Linked DNA regions of Homo sapiens: region 1 is linked to region 2. The links are contacts of gene promoters, found by promoter capture Hi-C in blood cells and fetal thymus (Javierre and others, 2016). All regions are on one chromosome and are shown on one strand. The core of a region is centred on a gene start or on the middle of the fragment in contact, and the rest is flanking DNA. Distances in the headings are between cores, read along the strand shown. Region 1 overlaps ANTXR2 (ANTXR cell adhesion molecule 2). Region 2 holds the start of BMP2K (BMP2 inducible kinase).

Region 1 (5,540 bases), core at 120-2,619, 1.3 Mb after region 2:
GCAGTCTTGCTGTTTCATTACAATATAGAAAAAATTCCAAAAATGCATAGTTTGTGATTGGAAACAAGTTTATCTGCCACTACTTTTTGGTTTTGCTGTTGTCGTTGTTGTCTTTGGTCACCACAAACTCAAAATAATCATTTAATGCTAGCTTAGAAAATAAATAAGCTTCCTATAAAAACTGCCTTGAACTTATGAGATAAAATAATAATAAATAGACTATTTCAGAATTTGAAGAAACTTGTTCATGGTATAATTTTCACTCTGATGCAAACATTATTTTGTATTAGCCTTATTTGCCCACTTTCTTGTTTTACTAAGACATGAAGTATATCTGCCAAGCAGTCTTAGTCTATATTTATTCCATTTGATTTTTCAGAAATCCAGGATGGCAAATGAAATGTTTCCCTATGCAACAATAATAGAAAAAATATCTTACTAATTCTTCTATTAATTTTCCAAATACACATCCTAAAAATTGTAAGCTCTGAAGAGTTTGGGGACCATACCCATTTTGGTAATACAAAACACAGCAAAGTGTCTTGAACACAGCCCAGTACCCAACAAATGCTTCTGAATCAACTGAGAATTATTATATTTGGAGAAAATGAAGTATAATTGAGAAATTGTACATTTTTCCTCATAATGTACACCAAATGGTACATTTGGTGACAAATATTAACCATTTTCTGCACCTGTTCAATTTCCTTCCACTCAATTAAATCTGCTTTTAAGAGCAGGTAAGCCTCTGTAGGACACCTTTTATAGTCCAACAGGTTAATGTTAAGAAATTAAAATTTGGAATTTCATTTTATCTGTGTAACCAAATGTCATCAGTTTAGTTTAGTTTTCTCACAAACTATCACAAAGCTGTACTTATTTATTCAAAGTGGATTTAATTTTCTTAAACTACAATCCCAACCAAATTTTTTTTAAAAAAAAGAAAATAATAATATTATTAGGGAATATTTTCATGCAAATACAAATACAGCTTTGGACAGTAGAGGCCAAAATAAGATCAGTTAATAAAATGAATAATTTAAAGGAAACTTTCTATGTTTATTATCAAGTGGGATTTCGGAGGAATGGGGTGTCTTCTTAGAATATATGTCAAAATATTTTAAATGTATTTGAATATAGTGAGCTGTCATCACTACTGATTTTTTTGTTCCTACCCTGGACACTTTTGCACCCTTACACTTCTATGAATAGTGCTCCTTTCTATTTGGGAAACTCTTTTCCACTCCATGTGGTCCTAGTGAGGCTGTGAATCACAGTGCCTTCTTCTCCCTCTCTCCCTTGCCCCCAACAGAATTGGTACAGGAATGAGCTCATGACTCAACCGAATCAATTAGAGTTCTTATCTGGGACCCTATACACTGATGCAAAGACAACACCCCTCACTTTCCAATATACTTGCTGAGGACCATGTAAGCCTCCTTTTGCAATTACAGTTCACCACCATTCATCTAAACAAGGAATGAGGCAAATAGAAACATAGGCAAAACTTACTGAGAGAGAAGACCCTGACAACATGATTGATTCCTTGGATCCAGCTGTACCTGAGGTAATTTCCCTCTCTGGACCACCTAGTTACAGGCCAGTAACATTCTATTTTTCTTTTCCTTAAACTATTATTAACTGAGTTCTTGTCATGTGAAATCAAAAGAGTCTTAATACAGTGAAACATAAATATGAGGATGAAATCAAATTTATATGAAATCAGGGGTTAATTATCTAATGTTCAAATATACCATAACTACATTAGAAAAATATAAAAACATTTTTAAGAACTTGCATAGATTTTTATTCATTTTATTTATTTATCTAATGCACATGGAATCAGAGGTTAATTTTTAATGCTCCAATATACCATAACTATATTATAAAAATATAAGAATATTTTCAAAAACTTGCATAGATTTTATTTACTTATAATTCAGAAATATGAATTAAGCAATGACTACTTACCCAACACTAGATTAAGCATTAGGTAAAAAAAAAAAAAAACAAAAACAGGAGTTGGGGCAATACAATTTCAACCTTCATACCATTAATGTGAAAGTTATTATAATGAAATACCTCATCTACATTCAGCGCTAATGATCCTTGGACAAAGAGAAGCCTAGAATAATCTGATATACAGTTATTCTTACATTATAGCCAGTCCTTTTTAACAGGAGTCCTGAAAATTGGTTTCCAGTTTTGAGTAAGTCCTACCATTTTTGTTTCTCCTATGAATGTATCTTTACAGTTGCTCAGGCTTCAGGTTTTTCATCAAACCGTAATTTTACAAATAGAAGTTTTCACAACTAAGTGGTCAACATTCATAGCAGAGTGTGCTAAAATCACTTAAGCTAAGGTATTATCAGAGTGTTTATTAGGTTCCCTCTTCTATGAAAATGATTTGCCTTAAGAGAAAATGTGTTTGCAATGTCTTCTCATTCCATTAAAATATAGTGTTAGACAATATAAAATATAGTGTTAGACACTTTTCTTCTTAGATATTTTTCTAAGAACAAACAACAACAGACATTGCTGAGAAAAAAATTCCACTCCAAAAGTGAAATGAAGCTTATATCTCCAGCACTATGAATGTAGGTACTTTTTGAAATTTCACTTTTCCCTTTAGAAACTATCTAATTCAGGTTTATTTAAATGTCCTAAATGTATGGATGATCGTTCCCTTCCTATTTATGCTTGTATACTTTCCCATTAAAAACTTAGAAACTCTGGCATTAACTACCATCACCTAGGATGTAGTGTTCTCAATTCTTTTGGACAAGGGTTATTTATAAAACATGCTTCACAACTGATTTATTTCTTTCTGCTTAATACTTTCTGAGGTATTCTTAAAAAAAATGTGGGAATAATTCCAAATAGTGAAACATCCCATGGTCCTGTTTTTACACAAGGAAGGGCACAGAACATTTTGATTTTTATTCTTTCCATATTATTCACCAATCTGTGGTTTTCTTTTATTTTTAATGTTATCTTCCATAGTCTGCATTATGAAACATTGAACTAGAACCCACAGGGTACTCACATCTCAGTCTGACCTTTACTAGTTCAAATAAAATTTCATTTTCAAATATAAGTCATGCAATCACCTTCCCAAGAACACAAAAATAATTTAACATTCCAAGGATTTAAAGATAATCTGAAGTGGAAAGTGAAAAAGAGAATATATATATGTGCTTGTGTCTGTGGACAATGGGAGGGGAGAAAGAAAATGAGGAAGCATAATGACAGTAGGGTTTTCTAGCCTTTCCATTCCACCTGGCCTCTAACTCCCTAAAGGATATCCCCCACTGGGCTTTTGTTCTCAAGCTCAAATCAACTTCCCCCTCTGCCCTATGCCTTCTTCCATTTTGTACAATAACCCTCTTGTCCCCTCTGTAAAAACAGTTTTTGCTCTATTCTTAGTCATTCATCTTAGTCAGGGACAGAATGCCCAAGTTACTTTTGACTCCTCTCTCTGTCTCTTGAACCCTATAGCCAGTGAGCTCTCAAATTCTACTAATATTTTAATGCTTCCCAAATTTAACGTTTTACTTCCAGTTTCACTGCCCATCCTAATACTAACAATAATTAACATTTGACAGCTAATATTTGCCATGTCTCTCGGAGCCCAGCTCAACAAGAGTCAAAGATTTTATACCTGGAGGTTTAGCCCCACCCTGTTCCTGACATGATGCTTGCCAGAATAAAGAGGTTATTAGGTGCTTCCCTCATGATCCTTGACCTAGTTCCATTGCGAAAGACAGAATCCCAGTGCCAAGAATAATCCCTAAGGAACTATGATGATCCACTGTTTCTTCCAAAACTACTGAGTTTCTTCTCTGAATTTCTAATTAGTACTATAAGTCCCACCACAGGAATTGTGTCTCTCCTCTGAATGTGCGGTCCAGAAATTCTACATAGCTTTTGTCATGGGAATACTGAATTTTGTTTCCAAGTTGTTGGCTAGGTCCTGATCTTACGGCTTGAGGATTTAATACCAGCGCACATCCAAATGCTTGACTTTGTGTGCTACACTATCTAAAAATCCTTGTTGTCATGACTCACATCCTAAATTTGATCCTCTTACATGTCAGTGCCATGTCCTTTTGTACCTAAGACCTTGTTTAAGTAGATTGGGGGTCATCTCTCTCAGTGGACTGCCCGACAGAAGGATCAGGAGCCCCATCATTAGCCCTGGGTTAGTTTCCTGCCATGCCTAGCTTTCTACCAAATGATTTAAAGCCAAGCCCTTCTAACTTAGGTCATTCTCAATTGTTATCTCATTTAATTTAAAAAATAAAACAACAAAATGGAAATCACTATTCCCATTTGACTGAGGGTTTTAAAACTCAGAGAAATTACATTGCCGGACATACCCCAGGTCACTTGGCAAGACAGAGTTGGAATTCACACCCAGGTTTTCCTATTCCCAACTGCATTTTGTCTCCACTATGCTGTGCTTCCTTTCATCGTGTCTCACAAGGATGACAGCAAAATACTTATAACACATCATCATCTTCCAAATCATCTTGTACATTATTATAAGAGTACTCTTCCTAAACCTGCATGGCCATTATATAAATCCCATGCTCTAAATTAATCTTCGATAATTTCCTACTTATTTATGAAATATGAGCGCATTCTCAAAACAAGTATGTGAAAGTCTCCATAATCTGAATCCACGCTACCCGTCAATGTTTATCCCCCATACCTCCCATGATCCTAGCCAAACCACATTCCAGCCTACACCTCAGCCAGTCAGCTCAGATAGTTCTTGAAGTTCTGTGCTCTTTGTTTCTCATTAAATCTATCCCAATTGTCAGAGTCCAGTTCAAATTTCACAATGAAAGGCCTCCCATAACTTCGCATAACTAAACCCATCCTGTCTTTATGTCACCTTACACTATAGGCATATTGGCATTTAACACCAATTGCGTTATAAGATTATTTCTTATCCCCTAAGGTGACTCACTGAAATTTTCCTCCTCTAAATGTCCACAATGCTTTGTAAATCTTTCAGGGGACTACCATACTCCAAACCTCAAATAATCATTCATTTCAAGCCCCTTTAGAGAGAATATGTCTTATTCAAGTTTATATCCTTCTTCTAATCATAACACAATGCCTTAAGAATAGTAAGGGCTCAGTAAATGAACTAATGAAAGAATGAGCTCATTGAGGAAAAAAAGGAGAAAAAGAAGAAATGTTTCCTTCCAGTATATACTTGAGATAATGAATTACAAACCTTCATATGCAACTAGCTAAGATTGGAAATTACATCAATATTCCCCAAAACTGTTACATACCATGTTTGCCTGGATAGAAATCTAAAAATACTAAAACAATGCATTTTCCCCAAAATTAAAATAGAATGCTTAAGTGATTTTCTGGATCAAATACATTTTAGAGAAGGCATTAAAATTTTAACGTGCAGGATGTTCATAACAAAGGCCTTTTTCAGCCCCTTGATTTTTGAGTTGTAAAAGCAGAACTACTACAGTGTTTCTTCTTTTTTTTAACTACCATGAAGAAAGGCT
Region 2 (5,273 bases), core at 614-3,113:
AAAACAATTCAAATTTAGGAATGAGACTCCACAATGAAGCCCCACAGCAACGAAAGTGGTCAGCTTGTTTCTAAATGGAAATCCCCAACTGCCACACCACATCAATCATCTGACATATAATCTCACTTCCACTAAGCTGGAATCTACTTTAAACGTCAGGTCTCTGGATGAAGAATTTTAGTTTAGTGGGTTATGTAGCAGAAATGCCTAAATCCAGAGCACTATTTTAGTGTTGGCAGAAATAGCTTCTCTTCAAATAGCAGGGAAGAAAGAACAAGGATTTTAAGTTCAAAGTTTTTGTCTAAGCACATTTTCTAATGTTTCTACCCGTTATCTCATTAAAAAGAATAAAGAAATAGGGGTGGGGATAGAACCACATTCATCTACTTTCATAGAAGGTGCATACTGGAGTCCTGCAGATACAATTTATTTGATCTATATTTTAAAAATTAGGGAAATGCCACATTAGAAAACAGTTCCAGGTTTTTGGTTCTCTTAAGAAACTGGAACCTCTGGGCACAGTGTGTGTGCCTATCTTCTTTTGTGGAAAAGTAGGCTGGAGCTGAGAATTGGCTGCTCTCTTTACACAGGCTCTACAGTTTGCCATTCCCTACCACTCCTGAATGTTTTACACCCATATTTATTTTGTTGCTTCACCCTGCAGTCGGGAGACTCCTGCAGTTTATGAAATTGATACAACAGGGCTTTTTTTTTTTTTTTTTTTTTTGGTAGGGGGTGCAAATCTCTTTGATTTGAGGGGAACGCAGTGGTCGCTTTTGCTTCCAAACAGCCTTAAATCTGCCCGTTTTTCAACGATCTGACCTTACTTTTTCAGGGTGGCCAAAAGCACAAAATTATGAATCAAAGAATGGTCCCCAATTACCACGAGCCAGCTGTGTGACCTTGGGCGACTCCGTTAAGTTCTTTTAGCCAAGAGTGATGAATGGTCTGCAAAACGACCTTAATACCTGTTCTGAATACCCCCACATGGCTGTGGTACAGCAGGCGTGAGATGTTTAAAGTACTCCTAAGTAATTTATAAACTGCAAAACGCTTCCCAGCACAAGCGTCCGCTACAGAGCGCGACGACACCGAGCCGGTTTAGAAGTCCAGTTACTGGAATCCACTCCAGTTCCGTCCTGCTCCCACCTCCTACGCTCAGGGTGGGCGAGCGGAAGGAGACTCTCAAGGGAGAAGGCCTGGAAAACTGGCTAAGAAACGAAGCGAGAAGTTCCTCAGCAGGGGTAAAGTTGTTGGCGGCATTTTTAAGCCCCTAGAGTGGCACAGCGACTCCCGGTCGAGATGACGGACCCCGGTGCGTGACCAGCGCGGGAGCCAGTCCCGGGCCACCTCCCTGCTTGAAGTCGGGCCTGGCCAGTACCCTCCCGGCGCAACCCCGGACCCGGGACCCCCGACTTTGCCCTAGTCCCCAACCCCCACAATCACCTCCCTTGGTCCCCCTCCACGTGACAAGAGCCGGAACCGTCACTTCCGGCGGCGCGGGCAGCGCGCCTGCGCGGGTCGCCCGGCCTCAGTGAGCGGTTGGCAGCAGCGCCCCCCCCCCCCCCCCGCCAACGGCCACGAGTGGCGGGCGGCGCGGGTTCGGCCGGGGCGGCGGCGGCGCGACGGGCTGCGGTCCTGCGGGTTTGTGGCCTGAGACGTCTAGCCCACTCCCTGGAGGGGCCGGCCGCCCAGCCTCTTTCGCTCTCTTCCTCTACCCCGGCTCGCGCTCCAGGCGCTTAGTGAGGCGGCGGGACGCCCGGGGCACTGGCGGAGGCGGCGGCGTCGCCCCTGGATTCGGACCCGCCCCCTCGCGCCCCGCCCCGTCCCCGCCCTCCCCACCGCCCTCTGCGGGAGCCGGGCAGCTGCAGCGGAGCCGCGGAGCGGGCGGCGGGGCCCAGGCTGTGCGCTTGGGGAGCGCGGAATGTGAGGCTTGGCGGGCCGCAGCACGCTCGGACGGGCCAGGGGCGGCGACCCCTCGCGGACGCCCGGCTGCGCGCCGGGCCGGGGACTTGCCCTTGCACGCTCCCTGCGCCCTCCAGCTCGCCGGCGGGACCATGAAGAAGTTCTCTCGGATGCCCAAGTCGGAGGGCGGCAGCGGCGGCGGAGCGGCGGGTGGCGGGGCTGGCGGGGCCGGGGCCGGGGCCGGCTGCGGCTCCGGCGGCTCGTCCGTGGGGGTCCGGGTGTTCGCGGTCGGCCGCCACCAGGTCACCCTGGAAGAGTCGCTGGCCGAAGGTACGGGCGCCCGGGGAGGCTCGGACAGGCAGGTGAGGGAGGGTTGGGGTGTGGCGGCGGCTTCTCCGGGTCCTCGCCCTCCGGACTGACTCTTATACCCCATTCTTCCTCTGCTGCCGGGCCAGCGGGGGCTCCTAAAGAGTGGCTCGGGCTTTCTCTCTTAAGCTGGCTTTTCTTGCCGCTGGCTGCCCCGGCCGGTGCACAGTTCTCTCATGCCTAGTTTAAATCATTTTCTGTGCTTTTTGACGCGAGAAAATAGGTAGTAGACGGGCTAGGAAGTGGGTTGGTGTTACGATTGGGCCAGTGACTCATTAGAGGGTCAGATCGAACAGGGTTGAAGCTCCGTTCTGCCAGCTGTGGCTCAGACGGGTGTCATGCGTTGGCCTTTTCATCTAAGCCTCCACCCGCGCTGCAGGGCATAGGACCCTGCAGCCCCTGGTGTCAAGCTGGGCTTTGCTGCAGCTCAGTCATCTGTTGAAAAACAATGTATTTGTGTGCATGTGTGCGTGTTGGAGGTGATCCTTTGCTCTAAATTCAGTTAGTAGGTTGCACTGAGGAGCAGGTAAACTTGGAGCCCATTTATCTTTGTTATTTAGAATCTTCTCTGTTGGACAAGGTGCTATTCATGCCCTCCCAGTATGTCTCTTTGATAGTAGTTTAAAAGGTGATATAAAAGCAGGTTAACTTTCACTTAACGAGGTTTTGTGGTCGGTCCTTCATGATCTGGAACAGGTTATGACGGCAGGTAGAAGTCTACTTACAAAAAAAGTTTACTCCATTTTAAAAGAAGAACTTAGAATTTAGTTTTGTATTTCTGGCATAATTGCCTTGTAGAAAATACTTGCCCTGTGTGCTGCATGCTTCATTGGCCTTTGAGTTTTTAGTTGCAAAATGATACTACAAAATAAACACTTTAAAAGAAATACTTTTTGTTGATAAATGGCCCTTTTAAGTTCTATGGTTAAGATAAAAAAAATCGAAGAGTGGATTCAGTTCTCCGAGCGTTAGACGTTGATGTGGTTTGAAAACAGTAGACTGAGATTCCGCTTGTATTTTTTGAAATGCTATACACAACAGTAAATTAGCACAAGGGAAAAAACCTGAAGATTTTTGTATAAAATATTTGAAAGAGAAAGAAATCGTGAATTATTCAAGTGTACATATCATTGTTTCGTGAACCATTGCTCAGAATAATGATCTTAGCCGAAACTTGGAGAGGTGGGAGAAGGAGGATCCTTAGTTTTTCAGAAGAATGAATATGTGGTGAGTGGTCTTTATAAAAGATTTACTATACTATAAAGTTTTCTAGCTCTTTATTACACATGAATTTCAATTATTGGTTTAGATTGTGTTGTAGGTTTTAAAAGCACATGGCTCTTCACTCAAATGCCATATTCTGTCTTTGAATTGTTTTAGTAACTAATTGAAATGTAGCTTGAGTAGTGTTACACTCACTCATTCCACTAAATCCCAGATGGGTCTTTTATTTAATAGAAAAAAAATACTGACATTTCACAAATTAGATTTTGAATTTGTAACTTGTATTACTCACTACCCTAAGCATATCTTATCACTACCCTAAGCAAGCCATTTTCAATAAAAAAATAATTTTGGAAAGTAATAAAGATGAATTTCAAAAGGAGAGTTCGTTCAACCACAACGAAGAATAAAAGTTTATTTCAAGCGCTAATGTCACTGTTAGAGTGTTCCACTGACTTTTGCCATAAATGTATCATTTCTCTTGAAAAGTCAATAATCAAATGCTAGGAGGAAGCAAGGACTGAAGAAATCCTTTTAGAAGATGAAACTTCTCCATCCTACACCCCAGCTTTAATTTCCTAGAAGGGAGGCCAAGGCCTAGGTTTTCTTTCCTTGTGTATTTTTTCTGTCTCCATCACCCACACAACTGGAATTGTCTATGTATAATCAGTTTAATTTTGATCCTGGCCGGTCTTATTTCAGATGCTTAATATCCCCTCTCCCTTCCTAATAAATAGTGCCACAATTTAGACAAGATGTTTAAGCACAAGTCTAGTTCGCATTTAAGCGTGATTAATCAATAATTGATGGGTCTGCCTGATCATAAGATTGGGTCATGTACTTGTGAAAATGCATTCAAGTTTAGAGTACTTGATTTGGGGAGAGGGATACCACTGAGTAGGCAAAGCGGTAGAAGCTAAGATAGACCAAAGCACAGACTTGGTAGATTTTGCATTTTTTGTTTTGGCCCAAAGTTGTTTAAACAGAGCCAGGAAGACTCAGTAGATACTGTGCCCTGAAGTGTTTTTGCCATGCTCCTGCAAACATTGGTAGTTTACTCATAATGACCTCTGCAGTGTCTTTTTAATAAATCCGTCCGTCTCTCTGTTGTTATTTTTATATAATTAGTTATGTTGCAAAAAGTCACCGTGAAAACTGGATTAGCAAACACTGAACCACTGCTCCTACTATGGTGTTAGATTCCTGAAAGCTGCTGTTCACAACATTTTTGTCAACTGATCAAGATACAACCTTGTTTTATGTCTGTTGCAGTTTAAATACACCTTATTTAATATATTTGGTTGATTTATTAACATTGAAATCATGGCCAACAGCTCTGTAAATCATGCCTCAATGAAGATTATCTCACACTTGTATTTTCTCTGTAGTCTTTGCTCCTTGAACACTAGACAGCACTTTAGCACTACGCTTAGGGACTGTTTTCAACAGTGAAATCACCAATAGCAAGCACAAAAATGAGAAAAACATGGCACTAAATAGACCATGAAAAGGACACTTGTTTACACTATGTAAGCTGAAACTAGAATGTGCACGTCAGTAGACTCACATTTTTCACCATTGTGCACATGTCTGCAATGACAGTGGAAGTGCTATGAGTAATGATTTTGGGGATACAAATAAATGTTAGTGAGTAGATGAATTTGTAAATATAGTATCCTCAACTAATGAGGAGCAACCTTTGTTATAGGTAGATATGTATATGCACATATTATGTCTATAATTTGAAAAGCAGATTCTCAGGGGTAGGTTGTATGTTA

What was found. Contacts are between HindIII fragments. The CHiCAGO score rates a contact against its expected background, and 5 or more counts as called.
Region 1: a fragment that was not itself captured here is called in contact with the fragment with the promoter of BMP2K in region 2 in 1 of 17 cell types (M2 macrophages); the score reaches 5.1 in M2 macrophages.

Annotation. Positions count from the first base shown.
Region 1 is chr4:80,046,273-80,051,812 of GRCh38, forward strand. All of the region lies in intron 7 of ANTXR2 (ANTXR cell adhesion molecule 2), which reads right to left. Among named protein-coding and RNA genes, the nearest start is that of ANTXR2, 24 kb to the right of the region's middle. The HindIII fragment of the contact is 2,406 bases long and covers 167-2,572 here.
Region 2 is chr4:78,774,487-78,779,759 of GRCh38, forward strand. BMP2K (BMP2 inducible kinase) reads left to right here and starts at 1,864. Exons shown (of 16, transcript NM_198892.2): 1 at 1,864-2,235. The coding sequence starts at 2,058. It overlaps BMP2K-DT (BMP2K divergent transcript), which reads right to left and starts at 1,484. Exons shown (of 1, transcript NR_186689.1): 1 at 1-1,484. RefSeq lists enhancers at 1,100-1,730, 2,363-2,993 and silencers at 1,197-1,446, 1,537-2,206, 2,568-2,768. The HindIII fragment of the contact is 15,970 bases long and covers 1-5,273 here.